2 separate regions of the Homo sapiens genome follow, and region 2 is linked to region 1. Evidence: promoter capture Hi-C in human tissues and cell types (Jung and others, 2019). All regions are on one chromosome and are shown on one strand. The core of a region is centred on a gene start or on the middle of the fragment in contact, and the rest is flanking DNA. Distances in the headings are between cores, read along the strand shown. Region 1 holds the start of HIF3A (hypoxia inducible factor 3 subunit alpha). Region 2 holds the start of LOC124904728 (a long non-coding RNA gene).

Region 1 (6,356 bases), core at 3,306-5,805:
AAGGTTTTTGAGAGTCATCCATGATATATGTGTATCAATACTTCATTTTTTTTTTGTTGCTGATAGTATTCACTGCATGGGCATACCACAATTTGCTTATCCATTCTACTAATGATGAACCTCAATATCTCTTCAATCCACCCCCTTTCCTTCATCTCCATGGCCCCTTCCCTGGCCCAGGCATCTCTTCTTTACACCCAGGTCTCCACTCCAGCCCAGCCTCCTTCTTGCTCTCTGATCTCTAATCTCACTCCCTGTCATCCACCTTCCAGAGGATTTTGTTTTGTTTTGTTTCGTTTTGTTTTGTTTTTTAATACAGGGTCTCTGTCACCCAGGCTGGAGTAAATGGCAGGATCATAGCTCACTGCAGCCTCAACTTCCTGGATTCAATCAATCCTCTTCCCTGAGCCTCCTGAGTAGCTGAGACTACAGGTGCATGCCACCATGCCCAGCTAATTTTTAAATTTTTTAAAGAGATGGGCTCTCACTATGTTGCTCAGGCTTGTCTCAAACTCCTGGCCTCAAGCAATCCTCCTGCCTTGGCCTCCCAAACCTGGGATTACAAGTGTGAACTACCACACCCAGCTCCCAGAGGAATCCTTATCAGGCACATGTTGTGTTCTGTCCTGCTCAAAACTCGGCCATGGCTCCCCAGTGCTCCCTGGGGAATGCCCGAGATTCTTTAATGGCTTTCAGACTTGGTTTGATCTCACCCCGATGCACCCCTCCACCATCACTTCCCATCTCCTCTCTTTATAATCCAGGCTGCAACCACTGTCTACCTGTCAGTTCCCTCAATGTGCCAAGCTCTCTTTTGCCTCCAAACTGTTGTATTATCTTCCCTTTGCCTACAATACTTTTCCCCCAGCCCTCTCATTCATGTATTTATTTATTTTACAGATGAGGTCTCACTCTGTTGCCCAGACTGGAGTGCAGTGGCACAATCATAGCTCATTGCAGCCTCCAGCTCCTGGGCTCAAGCAATCCTCCCGTCTCAGCCTCCCAAGTAACTGGGACTATAGGTGCACATCACCATGCCTGGCAAAGTTAAAAAAAAAAATTAAGAGATAGAGGCCGGGCCGGGCGCGGTGGCTCACGCCTGTAATCCCAGCACTTTGGGAGGCCGAGGCAGGTGGATCATGAGGTCAGGAGATCGAGACCATCCTGGCTAACAAGGTGAAACCCCGTCTCTACTAAAAATACAAAAAATTAGCCGGGCGCGGTAGCGGGCGCCTGTAGTCCCAGCTACTCGGGAGGCTGAGGCAGGAGAATGGCGTGAACCCGGGAAGCGGAGCTTGCAGTGAGCCGAGATTTCGCCACTGCAGTCCGCAGTCCAGCCTGGGCGACAGAGCGAGACTCCGTCTCAAAAAAAAAAAAAAAAAAAAAAAAAAAGAGATAGAGGCCGGGTGCAGTGGCTCATGCCTCTAATCCCAGCTCTTTGGGAGGTTGAGATGGGCGGATCACCTGAGGTCTGGATTTTGAGACCATTTTGGCCAACATGGTGAAACCCCATCTCTACTAAAAATACAAAAATTAGCCAGGCGTGATGTCAGATGCCTGTAATCCCAGCTACTAAGGAGGCCAAGGCAGGAGAATTGCTTGAACCTGGGAGGCAGAGGTTGCAGTGAGCCAAATCGCACCAATGAACTCCAGCCTAGGCGACAAGAGCAACACTCAGTCTCAAAAAATAAATAAATACATACATAAATAAAATAAAAATTAAGAGATGGGATCTTGCTATGTTGCCCAGGCTGGTCTCAAACTCCTGGCCTCAAACGATCCTCCCCCTTCAGCCTCCTGAGTCATTGAGATTACAGTTGAGAGCCACTGCACTCGGCTGTCCCCAACCCTCTCTCTGCTTGCCTCACTGTTATTCCTTCTTAAGTCTGCATCCAAATGCCCCTTCCACAATAAACCTTTCTGACAGCCCCGACAGGGTGGGTAAGGTGCTTCCACCAAGCTCCCACAGTTCCTGGCAGTTCAGACCACTCTACAATTTAATATTAAAAGGTCTTAAATTCCCACTTAACTTCAGTTCCAGGTACAAAACTTGTCTCTTCAAACAAGAACATATCCTTTAGCAAAAGTTGGAAATCATTTTAACGGACACATTTCCCTTATTGCCTTAGCTGCTGGGAACCTCTGAGCGAAGTTTAACGCTAACCTACATCGTAGAGAGACACCTGTTGCATCTCTGTGTGTAAAGTGTTAGTTCTATTTTAATGTTTGTTGAAATAGTGCCAGCTTTTCTTGGGCACTGTAAATCCCTCCGATTGGCTCTCTGCTGTGACTCCCTCATACCAAAATCAATGAGTTCTTCCACTGAATCTATCATCCAACTACTGCCCCCTCCAAACTCTTCCAACACACCCACTGGAACTCTCGTTGTCTTGTTAACAACCACTCCCCTTCCTCAGTTTCTCCCTTGAACATCTCTTCTACCCCATGTCCTTACCTAAACCCTAAGAAGCTCTAAGAACAATGCTTCCTCTGCAGCCCCTTCTACTATTTATTTATTTATTTATTTATTTAGAGACAGAGTCTTACTCTGTCACTCAGGCTGGAGTGCAATGGCATGATCTTGGCTCACTGCAACCTCTGCCTCCTGGGTTCAAGCGATTCTCCTGCCTCAGCCTCCCGAGTAGCTGGGATTACAAGGGTGTGCCACCACACCCGGCTAATTTTTGTATTTTTAGTAGAGATGGGGTTTCACCATGTTGGCCAGGCTGGTCTTGAACTCCTGACCTCAGGTGATCTGCCCGCCTCAGCCTCCCAAAGTGCTGGGATTACAGTCGTGAGCCACCATGGCCGGCCCCCCTTTATAATTCAGACTGCTCCTTTTCTAACATCCCACCTGCCTCTACACTGAGGGTTGAAAGCTGATTTCTCTATCAAGATTCTTTTGGGTGCAAGTATCTAAAATCCATTCAAACGAATCTAAGCACAAAGCAAATAAGGCAATAGTGAATGAAGCAATATTTGACAAAAGCAACAGCAAAAAAAAAAAAAAAAAAAAAAAAAAGCCCATTGTGGGTTTCATTTGAAAAATCCAAGAATTAAACTGGAGTTCAGGTATGGCTGGATCCAGGCACTCAAGTGCTGGTGTCAAAACTGCCTTTCACAATCGTTCATTTCTGCACAATCTCTTTTGCACTGAACCTCATCTCATAAAGCCTCTCCTCTCTTTGTGGCAGTGTGAGCCCCATCTGCTCCATCTGCCCAGCAATTCCAGCAGACATAGAAAATCCTCTTTCCTAATGGTTTCAGCAAATGTCTCAGGGTTGATTCTCATTGGGCTAAATTAGGTAACATGCCTTCCCTGAACCAATCACTGTGGCCAGGGAAGCAGACTCAACTGATTAGCCAGGTTTGGATCCTATGTCCATCCCTGGAGCTGGTGAAGGCAGAGCAGTGGCCAAGCCCTATTCAAATTAAATAGATGAAGAGGACAGAGAAGTGGTTTCCCAAAAGAAAACAGAGTGGGGAACTGGCGTGAGCCGGGGAGCCGTGTGGATTCCTGGAGGAAGAGTGTGCTAAGCTGTGGGAACAGCAAGTGCAAAGGCCCTAAGGTGAGCAACTTGCCTGGCAAGTTCAAGGTTCAACAAGGCCACTTCTGCTGTAGTATCCTCTTCCCTGCCAACCAAATCCAGAATAGTGGTCCAACACACACACACACACACACACACACACACACTCTGTTCCTTATCCAACTGTAATGCTTTCACCCTTGCTTGGTACCTTTGTACTTCTCCCTTCATAGTCGACTAGTTAAAAAAAAATACATTTCTCGGCTCTTTTTTGAAGTAGGTGTGATTGAGTTAAAACATATTTACTTGACATAAGCTTAATTATTCATCAATGGGAACCTGAAAAGGGAGTCAGAGAGGCCAAGAGGTTAGGGTGGAGTAGAGGGGGTAGGGAAGGTAAGCTGGGGTGCAGAGGGTGCAGACTGGAGGAATGGGGGCGAAGTGGGGTATGGGACTGGGGTGGCAGGGAGGGGCTGGGGAGAGAGAGAGAAGGGTAGGTGCCAGAGGGCCAAGGATTGTGGAACTGGGGTGGGGTTGGGAGTTGGGGGGTGGGGAGGAGATGTGGGGTACTCTGTGAATACCTTAGAAGGGATAGAGAAGGCAGGGCTAGGGGTTTGGAAGGGGTGGGATTGGAGGTCAGAGGGGCTCAACTGGGGTTAGGAAATGGAAAGGTGAGAAGAGGTGGGGGTTAGAGGCTGGGGACTGGGGTCCAGAGAGCAGAGTGAACTGAGTGGGTTCAGAAGAGTACTGGCGTTGGCACTTCAGAGGCTGGACTAGAGAAGGCGCGTTCAGCCGACGGTGCGGGATACACTGCCGAGGAAGTCCGCGGCGAGGGGCGTGGTTGGGGGGTGTGTATTACACGGTATCCCCCCCTTGCCTTTCCAAGTCTTTCCCTCTGGTTCCGCCTCCTTTTCAGGAGTGACATACCGTTGCCCAATCAGAGCCTCAGGCCTGGCGTGGCACAGCCAACCGCGCGGCGTGGGGAGGAGCTGGGGAGGGGGCTCGCAAGGCCGGGGAGGGGGCTAGGGGCCTCCGAGGGCTCCGGAGCGGCGACTGGCGAGCCATGGCGCTGGGGCTGCAGCGCGCAAGGTACTGAAGTTCGGGGGCAGGAGTTCTGGGAATTGGGGGGCTCTCCTCCTGGAGACCCCTGAGCTGGATTGTTGGGGGGGGTGGGGTTCGCGGGTGCGAGCCAAGAACGCCCCGGGGCGCGCAGTTGGAGGCACATCCCCACCGCACTCTCCACCCTTAGGGACTGCAGGGGTGGGGGATTCCCTACGTCTCTGGCTGCCCCGCCCCTCTGGCCAAGAGCGGCTTCGGGGTTCCCGATTTCTCGCTACCCAAGGCTCATTTACCCTCCTGGTTGGGGGTGGAACTTGGGATTCCTGATAAATTAGGGGTGATTGCATTTGAGCAGTCCCCAGGCTTCTGCGGGAGATATTCGCCCTCCACATATTGATCCCTCTGGCCTCTGAACCCCCCAAAATTGAGGGTATTCTTTGCCACCAGGTGCCTGGGATCCTAGGTGATATGGGATACCCCTAAATGGAGCCTTCCCACATATAGGGAGTCCCTTGGAATGGCATTCAGCTCCTGAGTTCAAGAGAGGAGAGATCTCCTCTAATAGTATGCTTCCTGACACAGTCTCCTAAACATTGGGTTTCCCTAGAAATGGGCAGAGGGGAGCCCCTTTCAGAAGCCGTCTGGGACCCTTCCCAAGAGACTTTTTGTATCCTTTCAAAAGCCAGAGTCACCCCCTTAAATAACAGGGAAACAAGCTGGACCCACTTCCCAAAGTCCAGCCCCTCATCTCACCCCTGCACCCCCATCCTGAGAGACAGGGGAGCCTCATCCAAGCTTTATTTTGGGGAGACTCCATGGCAGGGTGCTGTGAGCCTGCAGGCTGTGATGGGAACGCCCCCTGCCGCAGTACTCAGATGGGGTCATCCCGGGCAGAGGGTGGGTTTCTGGGTTCACTTGCCCAGCAGGTGCAGCTCTGCTGGAACACAGGGGAACCTGTGCCCTGGGGCCGCTGCCGGGGGGTTTTATCTGGCCATGTTCCCATGGGACCCTGGAAAATGTTCTAGGTCCTCAGCTTTCCCTGTCCAATGTGAGGCACCCAGTAAGCCTCACCCCCTTCCCTCCTCCCTGGCTTCTCAGGCCTGATTGGATCCATGCACACCCCATGTTTCTAACCGCCCCCATCCTCTCCCCTGTCCCCTACTCTATTCCAGGCCCTGGCTCTGGGCCTAACAAGGAACTCTATCCCACCCCTTTTGGGCCAGCTGTCGTTCCGCCCCTCTCAGCGCCCCCTCCTGGCTGGGTGGGGGCCCCTCTTGGCTGAGCTCGGGTGCCCCCCCTCCCCACCCAAGGCCGGCCCTTTCCTGTGGAGTCATCTCACCGCCGTGCGCACCCACTCGTAACTCGCACCCGGGTCCTGGCTGCACCGCATCCCCTCCTGCACCCCCTGGATGGCCCTTCAGCCAACGGGGGCCTGGGCGATGGTGAGTGGGCCCCCAACACCTCCTTTCCCCCTTCCCTTCCTCTAGCTGGGGCTGGCTGCCATCCCACTGTGGCCAAGGATGCTCTTGGGAAGTCCCTGGTGGGTACGGCTTGCAGCCCAGAGTGCCCAGTGAGGTAGTATTCCCGGAGAAGATAGGATTTTGGGGACCAGCACCCTACCAGATTACCATGTCCTTGAGAACAGGCAGAGTCGGGGGGCAGAGAGACTCCCCCAGACCCCCATGCCAAGTCCCTTTGCAAACCCAAACCCTGCCTCTGGTCTCTCAGGACACCTCTCTGCAATGCCAAAAGGCATCCTTGCCCAGCTAC
Region 2 (6,289 bases), core at 3,040-5,539, 48 kb before region 1:
GAAGAAATGTTTATTCAAGAAATTCTGTTAGCCAGGTGCGGTGGCTCACACCTGTAATCCCAACACTTTGGGAGGCTGAGGAGAGCAGATCACCTGAGGTCGGGAGTTCGAGACCAGCCTGACCAACATGGAGAAACCCCGTTTCTACTAAAAATACAAAATTAGCCGGGTGTGGTGGCGCATGCCTGTAATCCCAGCTACTTCGGAGGCTGAGGCAGGAGAATCCCTTGAACCTTGGAGGCAGAGGTTGCAGTGAGCCAAGATCACGCCACAGCACTCCAGCCTGATGACAGAGCAAGACTCTGTCTCAAAAAAAAAAAAAAAAAAAAAGAAAGAAAGAAAAAGAAAAAGACATTATACTCAATCTGTAAACAGCAGCAAGAGTCTGAGGGCATTTAAGCCACACATTACTCCTATTCCCCACATCCCCAGCCAACTCTGTAATTGAAGCTCTATTATGGTCAGTCACAGTCAAGAAAATGGGACTCCACCTCTCCCCAGCTCCCAGCCTAGGGCTACAGTTTCAGTTCAGAAAGGGCAGTGCACCAGCATCTTTTATCCTGCTGTCTCCATGTTGCGGATGTGCTATATTAGTTAGAAATTGTGGCTTGCAGCACCGGGGCTCCTTCTCCCATCCAGCCCCTCCTCCTAGCGTGGAAGTTCCACGCCAGGTTTAGCAGGTCAAGCACACTGGGCTTCACTGATCCTGCCTGAGTTCACTCATGGGGCAGAGGTTCCACACAAGAAAGGGCAAACCGAGAAGACGAACAGCTACCACCCCCTCCCAGTGTTCTAGCTGTAGAGGAAAGACATCACCGCAGGAGAAGCTAGCTGCTGTCCCTGACACCAGCTCCAGTCCAGCGGCTCAGTGGTTCTGCCCGGGGGAGAGGGAGGCCATCAGAACAGAGAGCTCCACAAGTATCCCTAAAACTGGCTTTACTTGAAATAAGAGTGTGGAGAAGTTGATGCTTAATGACATTGAAAAAATAAAAAAGGAAATTTTGGTGCTGAAAAACCAAAAAAGGGCTTGCAGTAGCAACAACAAACAAAAAGACAAGGCAGAAGCTTAACAGAGATAATCAGAAAAAGAGATAACTAAGAAGGGCCCTCCTGGAGTGAGAGACAGCCTCAAACCCTGGCAACACTCTGACTTGGCAAAGAAGCTAGACTTTAATCAGCCCACAAAATGATTTATGCATTGTGCTATAGGCCTATTAAAAAGAATAGAGCAATCAATTAACAATAAGAGGAGTCTAACAGATGCAAGTGATACCAACAGAGGCAGACAAGCCAGAAGCTTAACAGAAACATCAAGGAAAGGACAGTCAAAAAGAGGCCAGCTTATGCCATAACTATCTGGAGTAGTTAGAGAGACAGTGCGTATGCTTAGGGCTGCACCCTCTGGAGAGCACTAAGAAAGGTATAATTGTTCATATGTAATTATGTAATTATTACTTGTATGCATGTTATATAATTATTGCTTATATGTAATTGTGTAATTACTTATAAAAACAGCATAATCGCTTATTTCTTACCCTTTCTCCCCTTAACTGGTTTTAAAAGTCATGGCATGAAACAATATGTATGTAATTGTATTGCTGGGAAAAATAAAGAATCTGATTTTTAAATGGGCAAGAGGTCTGAATAGCCATGTATTAAAGGAAGACATACAAATAGTCAACGGATATATGAAAAAATGTTCAACAACACTTATCATCAGGGAAATGCAAATCAAAACCACACTGAGATGTCCCACTTCGGTTAAAATGGCTTTTATCAAAAAGACAAAGAATAACAGATGCTGGCAAGGATGCAGAGAAAGGGGAATGCTCATATACTGGAAATGCCCCTCCAGACCCAGACAGTAAAATTTACAAAACATTTAGAGAAGAATTAATACCAATCATTCACAAACTTTTCAAAAAAGTCAAACAGAACTTTCCAATTTACTCTGAGGTCTGTATTACCCTAACACCAAAATCAAAGATATCACAAGAAATTAAAAAGAAAAAACTACAGACCAACATCTCTTATGAATATAAATTCAAAAATCCTCAACAAAATATAGCAAACCAAATCCAGCAGCATATATAAAGAATGATATATCAGCCGGGCACAGTGGCTCACACCTGTAATCCCAGCACTTTGGGAGGCCAAGGTGGGTGGATCACGGGGTCGGGAGATCGAGACCATCCTGGCTAACATGGTGAAACCTCGTCTCTACTAAAAATACAAAAAATTAGCCCGGCATGGTGGCACGCTCCTGTAGTCCCAGCTACTTGGGAGGCTGAGGCAGGAGAATTGCTTGAACCCGGGAGGTGGAGATTGCAGTGAGCCAAGATCGTACCACTGCACTCCAGTCTGGGTGACAGAGCGAGACTCCGAAAAAAAAAAAAAAAAAAAAACAATGATACATCATGACCAAGTGGGATTTATCCCGGGGATGCAGTTGGTTCAACATAAGAAAATCAATCAATATAATATACCATATTACTAGACTATAGAGGAAGTCACGTAATTCTCTCAAATGATATTGAAAGAGCATTTGACAAAATCTACACTCTTTCATGATAAAGTACAAAGAACAAACTAGGAACAGAAGAGAGCTTCCTCAACCTGTTAAAGAGCATCTACAATAAACTCATAGCTAACATCATACTTAATTGTGAAAGATTGAATGCTCTCCCCCTAACATCAGGAACAGGATAAGTATATTCACTCTTACCACTCTATTCAACATAGCTCTGGAGGTTCAAGCCAGGAAAGTTAGGCAAGAAGAGAAAATGCATTCAGATTGAGCAAGATGAAGTAAAATGGTTTCTATTTGCAAATGACATGATCTTGTATGTTAAAAATCCTTAGGGCCAGGTACTGTAGCTCATGCCTGTAATCCCAGCATTTTGGGAGGCCAAGTGGGGAGAATCACTTGAGGCCAGGAGTTTCAAGCCACCCTGGTCAACACAATGAAACCCTGTCTCTACAAAAACAAAAAATAAACAAAATTAAAAAATTATAAGTACCTGAGGTGATAGATAGCGTAATTAACTGGATTTAATCATTCAACAAGTTAAGCCTACATTAAATCATCACATTTTACCCAATGTGAATAAACAATTATTCTTTGTCAATTTCCTAAAAAAATTCCTAGCAGAAAACGTGGAAGTAAATCTTGATGACCTCAAGTTAGGTAATATTTTCTTAGATATTACACCAAAAACACAAGAGACAAAAGGAAGAATAGACCTCATCAAAAATTAAAAACCTATGCACTGCAAGCATCAAGGAAATGAAGACAATCCACATAATGAGAGAAGTGTTTGCAAATCATGTATTTGATAAGGGATGAGTATCCAGAATATATTTTAAAACTCTTACAACTATATAATAATAAAATAAGCAACCCAATTAAAACATGGAAAAAATCTGAATAAACTTTTTTCAAAAAGGAATACAAATGGCCAATAAGCACATGGAAAAGATATTCAGCGTCATTATTCATTAAGGAAATGCAAATTAAAACTACACAGGATATCATACGCACCCACCCAGATGACTGTAATAAACAGGAAAATAGAAAATAACAAAGGTTGAAGAATCTGGAGAGAAATGTGAGCCCTCATACACTGCTGATGGGAATGTAATTGATGCGGCTCTGTGGAAAACAGTTTGCCAATTCCTCAAAAACTTAAACAGAATTACCATGTGGCGCAGCAATTCCACTCCTACATGTACACCCCAAAATAATTGAAAACAGGTTCTCAAGCAAATACATGTATATGTATGTTCATAACAGCACTATTCACAACAGCCCAAGTGTCCATCAACAGATGAATGGATAAATGAATGCTGATACATGGATACAATTGAATTTATTCAGTTATAAAAAGGAATGAAATACTAATAAATTCTACAATGGGGATACAATTGTAGAAATTGTAACAATGAAAACAATAAACAAAGTAAAAAAAAAGAAGGTGACACAAAAGTTCACATATGGTGTGATTCCATTTATATGAAATGTCCCAGATAGGTAAATCCATACAGATGGAAAGCCGACTGGTAGTTGCCAAGGGTGAGGGTAGAGGGGAAGGGGAGGAACAGCTAAGTAGGCATACAGTGGTCGGGGGCTGTGGAGCCAGGTGACTCGGAGCTAAAAAGCAATTCTGGAAGATGACTGAGCTACTCTTCTTTCAACTTGAGAGAGGAAGAGAAGGAAGGAGAGGAGGGAAAAGACAGGGAGGGGAAGAGAGGAGAGTGGGGCAGTGGAGGGGGAGAGAGAGAGAGAGAGAGATTGATGGTTGCGCAAAAAGAAGCTAGTGAACACAGCAGGCATTGCTCACCTTGATGGAATACACACAACAAAACTCTGTCCACCGCCTGGGCTGCCCTTACTTGAGCACACTCCTGGGGTAGTCAGGCCTCACTCCTGGGACATGGAGCCTCACTACTGCCTGGTGCTGAGAGCCCAGGGGCTCCAGTCAGCAGTGCTGGAAGCAGGGCCAGAAGTGCAGTTAGGACCACAGAGCTGGGTCTTGTTCAAGGACAGGATGATCCCCTTATTACAGCCCCAAGAGATTGCAGATCTGGTCTCCACTCTGGAGTGTCAACTGGCACAACCACAGTCCAATATCTGGAAGAGTCAGAGCTGATGAGCTGACAGGGGACCTCTGGGAGCCCCCAACCCTATCCACAGTGCTATAATCCTCCCTCCTCTCTTCTCCCTCCGCTCACCACACCCCTTCTCATCTGTGGTCCCTTCTGAGTCTGAGCCCAGGAGTTCAAAAACAAAGATCAGCTGAGAGCAGAAGGAGAATGACAATGTTTCTGGGGTCACCGGATCATGATCATTGGGGCACAAGATGATGTCTCTGAGTTTCTTTGGTTGCTGTAACAGCTCACAGTGGATTTTGGGACTGACTCTGGATGTAGGTCCTGGGGACTGGGCTTGGCAGGTGAGGAAATGCAGGGAGGGCTCTGGAAAGGGTTAAGCTTCTGGAATTTGCAGGTGGGGAGAGAGATTGCAATGCAGTCAGAGAGGACACGGGTGATTATGAGGTGGGAAACCGAGAATTAAACAGAAAAGAGAAAATTAAGTTTGAAGTTCAGAGGTACCTTAGGGATAACATTAGGCATTAGCTCAGCTTGGGGCTGGGGATGACTTACCGAAGATTCTGGGCACCATGGTTTAGGCTTCAGAGCAGCAGATGAGAGAGCAGCAGTGGAAATGGGTCAGTGACTTTACACAGGAGATTATTATAGGGTATGAACTTACCCATATTTAGGGAGGTGTGCAGAAGGAGTGGTTTCTTAAAAAGGGTGGGGCATGAAAAGCCACAGAAAGCATAACAAAATAAAAGCATTGACACATTAGTAGGATGCTACTGGACCTGTTCCAGGGCTGTCATGTTCTCAGACAGCTCAAAACTCAGGGCATGAAGGACATTTTCTCCGGTATTCACTGTGAGAACCTCATAGGGTTCCTGGAGGTAAAACTCTTAGAAAAGTGCAGAGGCTCCCCTTAGACTGGGCCCCCTGGAATTTTTAATTCTCAGATTGCTCCACCCTGAGCCTCCAGGAATTCATTCGTTAGACTTCATGTTTTCCTATCCTGGTACTGGTTCCCACAGGGGTTTCTGGTCATGGGTTTCTGTTGCAGTAGTTTTGATTCTCTGTATCCACCTGCCTGTGTCAACAAATCTTAGGGCAGTGGTTTGCCCTGTGACCCCACTCCTCTAATGGATATAAGAAGAAGTGTTAATTGTTTCTTTGTTCAGTATTCACTTTCTGTTAAGATGGAGTGATGAGTTCCAAGTTTCTTACATGCTTGACTGGAAACTGGAAGTCCCAGAGAACATTTCTTTAGAGATGAGGTCTCACTATGTTGCCCAGGTTAGACTTGAACTCTTGGGCTCAAGTGATCCTCCCACATCAGCCTCCTGAGTATCTGGGATTATAAGCATGTGCCATAGCACCGGCTCAAAAACCTACTTTTAATAATGTTCATCCTCTGCAAGCTGAGACTTTCTTTATGACCCAACATATGTGTGGGGTTCCCAGTTTACATGATATTTACAAACACGTTGACTTTACTGGATGCTTATACGTCCTCATTTCATTGTGCTTAAAGAGGAAACTGTAGCTCAGAGAGGTTAAGTACGTTTTGAAATGCCACAACTAGTAATGGTAAACCTGGGTCCCTAAAGTCACGAGAGAGAATTATGAGAGTATGATAGGAAACTTCAAAGGTACCGAAGGCAGAAACTGCTAACAGCATTGGTCTCTGAGGAGT

What was found. The method cuts DNA at HindIII sites, captures the fragments that hold promoters and counts their contacts. A contact is called where the count stands out against the background at its distance.
Region 2: a fragment that was not itself captured here is called in contact with the fragment with the promoter of HIF3A in region 1 in 1 of the 25 tissues and cell types used here (bladder).

What each region holds. Positions count from the first base shown.
Region 1 is chr19:46,292,487-46,298,842 of GRCh38, forward strand. It overlaps HIF3A (hypoxia inducible factor 3 subunit alpha), which reads left to right and starts at 4,556. Exons shown (of 15, transcript NM_152795.4): 1 at 4,556-4,616. The coding sequence starts at 4,591. The HindIII fragment of the contact is 13,814 bases long and covers 859-6,356 here.
Region 2 is chr19:46,244,982-46,251,270 of GRCh38, forward strand. LOC124904728 (a long non-coding RNA gene) reads right to left here and starts at 5,226. Exons shown (of 2, transcript XR_007067273.1): 1 at 5,164-5,226. The HindIII fragment of the contact is 6,217 bases long and covers 1,182-6,289 here.